3 separate regions of the Homo sapiens genome follow, and regions 1 and 3 are each linked to region 2. The links are contacts of gene promoters, found by promoter capture Hi-C in human tissues and cell types (Jung and others, 2019). All regions are on one chromosome and are shown on one strand. Each heading gives the region's core, a stretch centred on a gene start or on the middle of the fragment in contact. The rest is flanking DNA. Distances are from core to core; before and after follow the strand shown.

What was found. Contacts are between HindIII fragments. The study calls those that stand out against the background at their distance.
Region 1: a contact is called between a fragment that was not itself captured here and the fragment with the promoter of ANKRD46 in region 2, in 1 of the 25 tissues and cell types used here (lymphoblastoid cells).
Region 3: a contact is called between a fragment that was not itself captured here and the fragment with the promoter of ANKRD46 in region 2, in 1 of the 25 tissues and cell types used here (lymphoblastoid cells).

Annotation. Positions count from the first base shown.
Region 1 is chr8:102,199,242-102,202,699 of GRCh38, forward strand. No RefSeq gene overlaps it. Among named protein-coding and RNA genes, the nearest start is that of RRM2B, 38 kb to the right of the region's middle. The HindIII fragment of the contact is 3,129 bases long and covers 403-3,458 here.
Region 2 is chr8:100,557,733-100,561,416 of GRCh38, forward strand. It overlaps ANKRD46 (ankyrin repeat domain 46), which reads right to left and starts at 2,027. Exons shown (of 5, transcript NM_001270377.2): 1 at 1,979-2,027. RefSeq lists enhancers at 1,929-2,223, 2,191-2,330 and a silencer at 2,021-2,190. The HindIII fragment of the contact is 6,170 bases long and covers 1-3,684 here.
Region 3 is chr8:98,704,413-98,708,092 of GRCh38, forward strand. STK3 (serine/threonine kinase 3) reads right to left here. Exons shown (of 11, transcript NM_006281.4): 5 at 2,735-2,899; 6 at 2,055-2,222. Among named protein-coding and RNA genes, the nearest start is that of STK3, 120 kb to the right of the region's middle. The HindIII fragment of the contact is 3,570 bases long and covers 481-3,680 here.

The DNA of each region.
Region 1 (3,458 bases), core at 717-3,216, 1.6 Mb after region 2:
TCTCTGAGACTTTTGGCTCCAACAGATCCAAACCACCAGACAGCAGGAATTAGAAACAGGTGCTACCTATGGTCTGTGTATTAGTCCGTTCTCGCACTGCTATAAAGAAACTGAGACTTGTTAATTTATAAAGAAAAGAGGCTTAACTGACTCACGGTTCCTCAGGCCGTACAGGTAGCATGGCTTGGGAGGCCTCAGGAAACTTTCAATCACAGCAGAAGGTGAAGGGAAAGCAGGCATATCTCACATGGCCGGAGTAGGAGGAAGAGAGCAAAGTGGGAAGTGCTACACACTTTTAAACGATCAGATCTCGTGAGAACTCACTCACTATCATGAGAACAGCAAGGCGGAAGTTGGCCCCCTTGATCCAATCACCTCCCAATAGGCCCCTCCTCTAACACTGGGGATTACAATTCAACATGAGATTCGGGCGGGTCCACAAATCCGAAACATATCAGTCTGGAATTTAAATAAATTGAAGCAAGCATATCTTTATTTGCCACCAATTTATTACCCTAAGTTCTGGGCAAGACTTCTTGGAAAACTCCTCTAAATTTTTTGAGCAGCATCTAACATTTTACACAGTAGACCACGTGATGTGTTCTCAGGTTTCCAAAATTTGTCATATGCAGCCACTGGCCGGACATGCCATTGTGAGTTTCACCTGTACTATTTCTTTTCTTAACGTTTTTAAATTATTTTACTTAAAAAAAAAAAACTATTCAGGATCAGGCGTGGTGGCTCACACCTGTAACTGCAGCACTTTGGGAGGCCGAGGTGGGCAGATCACTTGAGGTCAGGAGTTCGAGACCAGCCTGGCCAACATGGTGAAACCCTGTCTCTACGTGTCTCTACTACAAATACAAAAATTAGCCGGGCATGGTGGCATGTGCCTGTAATCCCAGCTACTTGGGAGGCTGAGGCAGGAGAATCACTTGAACCTGGGAAGCAGAGAGCCGGGATCAGTGAGCCGAGATCACACCACTGCACTCCAGACTGGACGAAAGAGCAAGACTCCATCTCAAAAACAAACAAACAAACAAACTAAACTTTTCAAAGAAGATTTTCCAGATGTAATTAAAAAACAAGTATCAACTGCCCTTGCAGTCCCAATGTCTTCAAACATTATTGCCATTCCAGTCATGAAGTGATGCTCAAACACAATTCTCAGCAAGCCATGCCGCATGACCTTGAGACGGACAAATGAAGCTCTAAATTGACACCTGCCAATGGAGTGTGTTATGGAGGGTGTGTAGCTCAAAGGGATCGTATCCCACCAAAAAATCATCTTGACTTCCACCAGCTAGCAATAGAAATTTGGGTGCACTCAGTGAAAAGATGATGCGATTTAAACCATGATGCCTGGGTTGGGGTCATGCCTCTACCCCTTACTAGTTGTGTGACTTTGGACAGGAACTTAACTTCTCTGAGCTTCAAGTCCCAAATATCATTGTTATCATAATAATAATGATATTATTATGACAGCAATTTCTCATAAAATTGGTGAGCCAATGAAATTATTGCAATGGTATGACTGCAAAATCACCTTGTAAACTCTAAAGTATGCATAAATATTTATTAATTTCCTGAGAAATAAATCTTCCAAGATACAGTGAAGCTTACACTTTTACTGTCAGAACTTGGACATTATCATTATTGATGAGAGACTATAAAGAACATGGCCTTTGACCATTACTCAGACAATTGAGTAGGCGACAGGAGAATGTTTCTCACCCCTTCTTTCTATGATGTGTAAACATGCTAAGCTGGAGAAATGATCAGAGAACAGGAGATGTGGTTGTGAGAGTTGGCACAGGATGCAGAAAGCCCAGATGTACAATGAGTGCTATCCTGCCATAGACACATCACCTAGCAAGGTCCCATAAAACCAGGACAACTCTTTCCTTCACATGGTGGATCTTCACTGCACCTCAACTCAGCCAGTTTTAACAAGTCAGTACCACCCCCAGCTATCTACGGTCGCCTCACCGTAGTCCTGATAGTGCTGTACATGGCCCCATTCCTGACCCAGCCTCACTTGTCTATCCCTCCCAAATGCTGGCCCTGAGCCTTTGGTAACCCCTTCTCCAAAATCAGTCAGTTGGTGCCTTCCTCTGCGGGCCTTATGTTACCTGAAACAGGGCATTGCCCTGGGAACTCTTCCCATGTCGCCTTTGGAAAGAAAGCTTTTATTTTCTCACACCCCATGGACCTCTCAGGTATGTGGGGAAAGTTGAGCTGGGGTCCTCTTTGATCCCCACTGACACCTCCAGACCATGGACACCACATTATTTTGTTACAACCCTGCTCTTTTAAGACTCACAACTCAGCTATACCTCCCTCTCCTACTCCTCATCTTGTCCTGACAGTACCTCTCTTTCACTGAAGAGTTAAACACTTGGCTCTCAGGATCCACCCAAGATGCAAAACCCTGGACTCTCAGCTCCCTGAGGTTCTCATCACCAATGAGCCCACCCACTTCCCCAGCAACAAACCCCAGCCTCCTTCTCCCACACTTACTATGTTCTGAATCACCAATTCTAGCACCTCACTCTGACCACAATCTCCTCCCCTTCCAGAGCACTTGTTCACCTACTCCCCCCACCACAGTTCTTAGACTTAATCAAGACCCCCAAGTTCTCTCACTCATCTACTTTCTCCCAATCCATGAACCTCTTCTCTTCACGTCTCTCTATCCAGCTAAGATTCCGGAGTCCATCATATTACTAGTAGTAGCATTCCTATCAATAGCCTTAACTCTGTTCCTCACCTGCATTTTACCATACATACATACATTTTACCATACATAGAAAAATCCAGGAAAAAACCCATTGTGAATGCAACAATCCAGTTTTTACATATTTGTACCCTAGCAGCAAATGCTGCTAGAGAAAAACCATACACTAAGGCAAACTGAATCTACTAGGCTCTCCATCCTCCACAATTGCTTCTTCACACCTCCCCTCGCTGCCCCTACCCCCACTTCCCAAGGAGGTGACCTTATCATCTCTTTCACAGAGAAATTAAGTCAACAAACAACAAGCTTACAATGTCTCTTCACTAAACTACAGACATACCCCATCACCATCCATCCACCTTCCCTAGCTTCCCTCCTGCTACAATAGAGGAAGTGTCTGAGGTCAAGCCCTCCACCTGTGCTTTCCATCATCCCACCTTCTCAGGAGGCTTACATTACCTTCTCACACCCCTCTTCTTACCTTTGCCAAGATTGTCTTGATGAATTCTTATCTCAAGATTTTTTCTCAGTTGGGCACGGTGGCTCACGCCTGTTATCCCAGCACTTTAGGAGGCCGAGTTGGGCGGATCATGAGGTCAAGAGATAGAGACCATCCTGACCAACATGGTGAAACCCCATCTGTACTAAAAATACAAAAATTCACTGGGCATGGTGGCGAACGCCTGTAGTCCCAGCTACTCGGGAGGCTGAGGCAGGAGAA
Region 2 (3,684 bases), core at 777-3,276:
TTCTGGGCTTTTGCCCTTGCTTGGTATGCTCTTTCCCTAGACAGCTGCATGGCGGTCCCCAACGCCTTCAGTTTTGCTTGAGTCTTTTCCATGGCACCAGTCCTTATTTTAAAACTGCACCTGTTCCTTCCTTGGTGCTTCCTATCCCCCTTTGCTACTTTATTTTTATTCCTAGTAACTGTTACCATCTGACTCCAGATACGTTAACTTTCACAAATCCCGCTTATCGTCCCCAACCCCACCTTCCTCCAGTGACATGTTAGCTCCTGGAAGACAAGGACTTCATTTTGTTCACTCTCACATCCCCCAGTGCTTAGAACAGAGCCTGGCCATAGAAGGCACTCAATATACGCTTGCTATATGAATGCCGAATATGCAAATTCTTAAATCTATAATAGGTAAGGCTAAGAAGTTTGGGACTATAAAGCCCAACTTATTTCCACAATGGGAAATACAATTTCCCTTTTGATAAAGAACTGTGAGAATCCTTTGTTTTCCATAGTAACACAATTTATATAACATGCCAAAAATTCCTTATCACTTCACATCCTCTCTCCAGTGCCTTTCCTGTATTCTGTAAAATATTAACTTACTATCATCAAAAAATCTTTGATTTCCCTCTGGTACTGCTACCATAATAATGCAAAGGCAAAGTGAACTCACTAAAAAATGGTATGGAAACATAAATAATGAAGAAATGTAATAAAGTGTGTTAACAACCAAACAAATTCATCTCTATTTCAAATCAAATTGTACTGGCACAGTGAGAACCCCAGTCCAAGTTTAACTTTATTATCACTATAGTCCTTAATGAGCTAACAGTTTTCTTACTAAACTCCTTTTAAACTAAAAAGGAGTTCATGTAGGACTCCTGCATATAACCATGAAAACTAAGCCTGAGAGAAATCAGTTCAGGCTACAAATCTAATTGATAAAACTCTTAGACAGCGCTACATGTTTGGCTAGATAACAGACGCAGGGATACTGAAGTAAGGGAGATGAGACCAAATCTCGCTCAGCCTTTGCTAGCTTTCTGACCTTGGAGAAGTCAGACTCTCGGTGCCTCAGTTTCCTTATCTGTATAATGGAAATGGTACCTGATAGGGTTGCTTCAAGGATTAAAGGTACCAGGTATTTAAAGCAATGGCACCGTGTCTGACATAAAATAAGCACTGAAAATAGCTATTACTAGAACATAAAAATAATCCCCACACCACTCATATTACAGCTCTTTAAGAGGCTCCTAGGTACCACCGTCATTTTTTAAAGATTGAGAAGCGCTACTATTCAATGGCATATTTTTACCTTATTATGTTCTGTAGCCAATTCCGAATACCGTGGAACGTTACAAAAAACAGATGTTATTTTCTTGAGGTACTGTTGGGAAAACCTCAGAGAGAACGATCTGCTTTTTAGCACTGCAAGCCAATTAAGGGAGGAAGTTTGCGATTACCCGAGCCCTAAGTGGAAGGTGTGCAAATCCTTCCTTTTAACCCGGGCACCCCGGAGCCATGTGCCATTCTGGAGAGCTCACTCACACCCCAACAGCTTGTCCCGGCGCCTGAACTGTGCGCTCCTGCAAGCACACGCCGCGAAAGCACCGTCTCGCCCCGGCCGAGCAGCTGGACCTGCGGCGTGGCTTCCGCGCTCCACCCCCCGATTAACCGCGAGCCAGGGCTGCCCGCGCTGCCCAGGGGTTCCCCGGACCACAGCCCTAACCCGCAAGCGCAAACGAGAACCCTCGCAGGCCTCTGCCCGGCCCTCGTGAACACACAGACCGCGAAGAAGCCATCACGGACCCGCGGTCGCTTCCTCGGCCCGGCTCCCTCCAGTCGCCGCGGAAGGTGTGGGAAGCCCGGGCACCCTCGCCCCTCAGGGCCCCGGCCAGGCCTACTGGACCTCCAGTGCTACAGGGACGGTGCAGGAGATATCAAGTGGCTCTAGCCCAGGCGCTGCCCACAGGCCCCGGGCCAAGTACCTGCGACTCGAACGAGCAGCAGCGACAGCGGCAGCTTCAAGGAGGCGGTGACGGGCGGAGGGGAGGGGCCAGACAGGGGTAGTCGGAGTCCCCGCTGGGCCAGAGCGGTCTCGCGCTGCAGCCCCCGGCGCGCCCCCTGCAGGTGGGCGGTCCTCACGGTGGCTCGGGCTGCTCTGAGTCAGAGACTCCGGGAAAGCCTGCTCTGAATTAGGGAAAGCATCAAAACTGTGGCTTCAGAAGAGAAAGACAGCCTAGAAGAGGTTTATCCGATCTGAGTCCGGGAGCATTTTGCACTTTTCACGTCCTATTCTAAATTCACATCCCATCCCCTTAGCTAAATGGGGGCTTCAAAGGCAAGGGCAGTTTCATTAGGTGCTATAAGCATCAATTAATAGTTGCTGGCCTCTAGGTAGGTCTTCTATAGACCCGAAATTGACATATTAGGAATAGCCACTAATGATTGGCTGCACTATTTCTAAAATATAACCCTGCATTTTTACTTTTTTCAAAAGCAGTTTGAATCTTTTTTTTTTTTTTTTTTTTTAGACGGAGTCTCACTCTGTCGCCCAGGCTGGAGTGCAGTTGCTCAACCTCGGCTCACTGCAAACTCCAACTCCGCCTTCCGGGTTCAAGCGATTCGCAGTTTGAATCCTTCCATCCTACTTTGTAGGGTTCCTTGACTTATTGCAACATGTACAGCCAAGACTAACTAAAAGTGTGGTGGGACATTCATATGCTGGAAACATTCTTTCATGCAAAACTAGTTTTTTCTTTTTTTCATTTTACCAACTCCAGTCCTACAGCCAAGACAACTCTCACTGCACAGTGACCGTCCTCTGAATTCTAGCACCCTCATCCAACCAAGCCACGCTCTATGGCAAACTTGTCCAACCCCTGGCCCACACCTGCAGGCTGCATGCAGCCAAGACAGTTTAGAATGCAGCCCAACACAAATTAATAAACTCTCTTAAAACATTATGAGTTTTTTTTTTTTTGCAATTTTTTTTTAGCTCATCAACAATTGCTGGTGTTAGTGTATTTTATGTGTGGCCCAAGACAATTCTTCTTCCAATGTGGCCCAGGGAAGCCAAAAGATTGGACACCCCTGCTCTAGGGTATCTCATGGTTCATTCATTCAAGGACCACCTACACCATCTAATAATTTGTTCTTGAAAGTGTCATGTAAAGGTTTAGGACTATTGTCATATTAGAGGAAATCACTATTACATTTCTTTCATGTAAGAATTATAAGATCTGGCCATGCACGGTGGCTCACACCTGTAATCCCAGCACTTTGGGATGCTGGGGTGGACAGATCACTTGAGGTCAGGAGTTCGAGACCAGCCGGACCAACATGGTGAAACCTTGGCTCTACAAAAATACAAAAATTAGCCAGGCACGGTGTTGCACACCTGTAATCCCAGCTACTCAGGAGGCTGAGGCACAAGAATCCTTGAACCCCAAAAGGCGGAGGTCACAATGAGCCGAGATCTCACCACTGCACTCCAGCCTGGGTGACAGAACAAGACTCCATCTCAAAAAAAAAAAAGTTATAAGATCTTAGGGCATTTCACATTTTATTGTGCTATGACTAATCAGCAATATTACTTGTTAAATTGATGACATTTATTAATCAGTTTGTTATTGATGTCCTCCTTCTGGTTGTGTATTGAGTTTATAATATCTTCACTGATGCCTATAAACTA
Region 3 (3,680 bases), core at 1,016-3,515, 1.9 Mb before region 2:
GATTAACTGTCCAAAGAACTGGACTGTGAAGAAATTGCCTATATACAAAATATGAGGAAAAAGAGAAATTTACTTGGGCGATAGCTGTCAAGAATGGCTCTACACAGGCATAAAATCCAAGTTGGGACTTGAAAAACTGGTAGGATTTAGATTTAAAAAAAAAAAAACAGTGAGCAAGGCATCCTAGGAAGTTTGCAATACAGGTATATTTTTTTCTAAAAGAAATATTATTTTCAGGTATATTTTTAATAATGTATAATGTATTCATTCAAACTCTCAGGTAATATTAGAAGATCCTTAAAGGAAGAGGCCACATATTACAATTCTCTGCTATCTGAGCACAGGATCAAATTTAACATGTTGAACTATTTGGTTGGAAAAATAAGATTTACACAGGGAAGAAGCAGAATAGTAATAATGGAAGTCCTAAGTTAAATCCCAGCTCTTGTACTTACCTAGGTTGCCTTGGGTAATTTAGTAAACCTCACTGATTCAAACTCAAATACACCTACTTTGAGGATCACCCTACAAACATCCTAACTAAAAGAACCACAGATAACTAATGATCAGAGATGAAATAAGACTTTGTGTTCCTGTTTTTATGCTGACCTTGTTGTTTTTCAAGTTATTTTCAAACAATTGATGCATTTTTATCTTTCATTTACCAAAAGGAATTTATATACACCAGGAAGATGATACATATTGTATACAATTACATTACTCAAAGAACTCTAGGCTGGGCACACTGCTGTAATCCCAGCACTTTGGGAAGCTGAGGTGGGCGGATCGCTTGAGCCCAGAAGTTGGAGACCAGCCTGGGCAACATGGCGACACCTTGTCTCTACAAAAAATTAGTTGGGCATGGTGGTGCATACCTATAGTCCCAGCTACTCTGCAGGCTGAGGTGGGAGGATCACCTGAGCCCAGGAGGTCGAGGCTCGAGTGAGCCATGATCGCACTACTACAATCCAGGCTGGGTGACAGAGTGAGACCTTATCTCAAAAGAAAAAAAAAAAAAACTCTCTTTAAAATGTTTCAATACAGCAGACAGATTTTTAAATATTTTCTGTATAATACACTGTTACCTATATTATCGAAATTTAACCCACAATGGCATTATAATATCAGATGTAATTCCAATTTATTCTTCTTCAGATATTCTAAAATATCTGAATTTTTATGCATTCTTCCTCTTTCTATCTATTTACTTCACATTCCTCCAGCCACCATGATATTATCTTCTCTTTTCTACAAATACACACATACATACACTCCTCCCCTCATTCCTACATCCTTATTGAGATAACTACAGCCACTAGAGGGCAATAAGTATACAAAGATCAGTGTACCTATTTATGATGATGAACTTATCTATATGATTCACATAGTAATAAACCTAAAAAGTATATCATCACAAACCCTGAAACACAGGCAATTAGACTTGAATATGCAAAATATATATTTCAAACTCAAAAATTATCCTGCAGAGTTCACAGAAGCATATAATGATGTTCAAAAAAGGAATTCCATTTTCTCAGCATGCATTCATTAAAAAAAATTAGCCGAATTCCTTTATATGTGCATAGTAATATTAGAAATTAGGATTGCTTAATACCATCCTCAGACCAAAGAAGAGAAAAGGCAGAAAAAAAAAAACACACAGTAAGGTATAAATCACAGAGTGGGTAAAAAAGTGAGAAATGATTACTTCCAACTCTTTCACTACCACAATCAAGAAAACAATAAACTGAAGAGCAAAGAGGATTTACCAACCCTTTCTTCTATTGAAAAGCAAGCAAAAATTTTACAAGTATATTTTTGGGGGAGGAGAACAGTGATGGTAGAGATATACAAAGCCTTCAGTTCTTTTCTCACAATTAAGAATGCAGAAGGAAGAGAAGTTAACAGTTACTAATCTTTAAGAGGTAATTTTACCATTTTTAAAAAGAATACATTTAAATGAACTTATTTAGTTTATATTTACTTACATTGACATTACAAAACGGCAACACTTATATAAGGCTAACATTTTCAGCAAACCATAATTTTCTTACCCTCATTGGATGTATATCAGCATAAGGAGGTTTTCCTTCAGCCATTTCTATAGAAGTAATGCCAAGGGACCAGATGTCGGCCACACAGTTATAGCCTATTTCTTGAATCACCTCAGGAGCCATCCAAAATGGAGTTCCTATTACAGTATTGCGTTTTGCCATTGTATCCTGCAATAATGTTACATAGCCATAAATGCTACTACAAAAGCACAAAGGAAATCTGTATGCCAAACATACTTTTAAAAAATGTTAAAACCTCCAATGCCACAGATTATATCAGAAATTGACTATTTTGCTAAAATTTCAACTAGTTATGACATACTTAGGAATTCCGAATTCTGAAAATAACCAAGAGTCCACAGGTAACTTATCCACACTACCATCATTAAACACAGTCATTAAAGATAGTGCTACAATGATAAAAGCTACAGAAATGAGCTACGTAGCTTCCCTTTTAGAACATTTAAGCATTTTGATTATAAGATATATTTTCACATTCAATCACCCTAAATTATAAATTAAATAATACTCAAATTTGGCTCAATTATGGTTCCTTCTCCACAAAAATTAAAAAACTACACATTTCTTTCCATTCCCCCTCAAAAAGTAATTGAAGTTTAGTTATAATCAAATCTGAACAAATTAGCCAAGTGTTTAGAAAACCATTAAAGTTAACTTACTGTTAACTGACCAGCCACTCCAAAATCTGCCAATTTTGCATGTCCTTCTGTATTGAGGAGAATATTTCCAGCTTTTATATCTCTGTGTATTTTTCTCATAAAGTGCAAATATTCTAGTCCTTTCAATGTAGATTTAAGAATGGTTGCAATTTCATCTTCTATTAACTGGAAAGAAATATTTTTAAAACCATAATTAAAATGCCACGTTAGATAAAATCTTACGAAAGAGCACTAGTAACAAGTATGTCTTTCCGTGTGTGTGTGTGTGTTTTTTTTTAAGAGACCCCACTCTGTTGCCCAGGCTACAGTGCAGTGGTGTGATGATAGCTCACTGCAGCCTAAAATTCCTGGGCTCAAGGCATGCTCCCACCTCAGCTTCCCGAGTAGCTAGAACTACAGGCACATGCCAACCCAATAGGCTAACTTATTTTTATTTTTGTAGAGATGGGGATCTCGCTATGTTGCCCGGGCTGGTCTTGAACTCTTTGCTTCAAACAATTCTCCTTCCTCAGCTTCCCAAAGTGTTGGGATTATAGGTGTGAGCCACCATGCCTAGCCACAAGTACTTCTTTCTAATGACCGCTAAACCTCCAGGAAAATGCTAAAGGGGTAAATAATCGAGAACCTCTTCTTCCCACAATAAGCTTTCTTATTACACATTTTACTAATGAAAGGATGATCAAATTTCTCTCTTTAAGATTATCAGTATCAGCAGGGCGTGGTGGCTCACACCTGTAATCCCAGCACTTTGGGAGGCTGAGGCGAGCAGATCACTTGAGGTCAGGAGTTCAAAACCAGCCTGGCCCACATGGTGAAACCTCGTCTCTACTAAAAATACAAAAATTAGCCAGGCGTGATGGCGTGCACTTGTAATCCCAGCTACTCAGGAGGCTGAGGCAGGAGAGTCACTTGAACCTGGGAGGCAGAGGTTGCAGTGAGCTGAGAT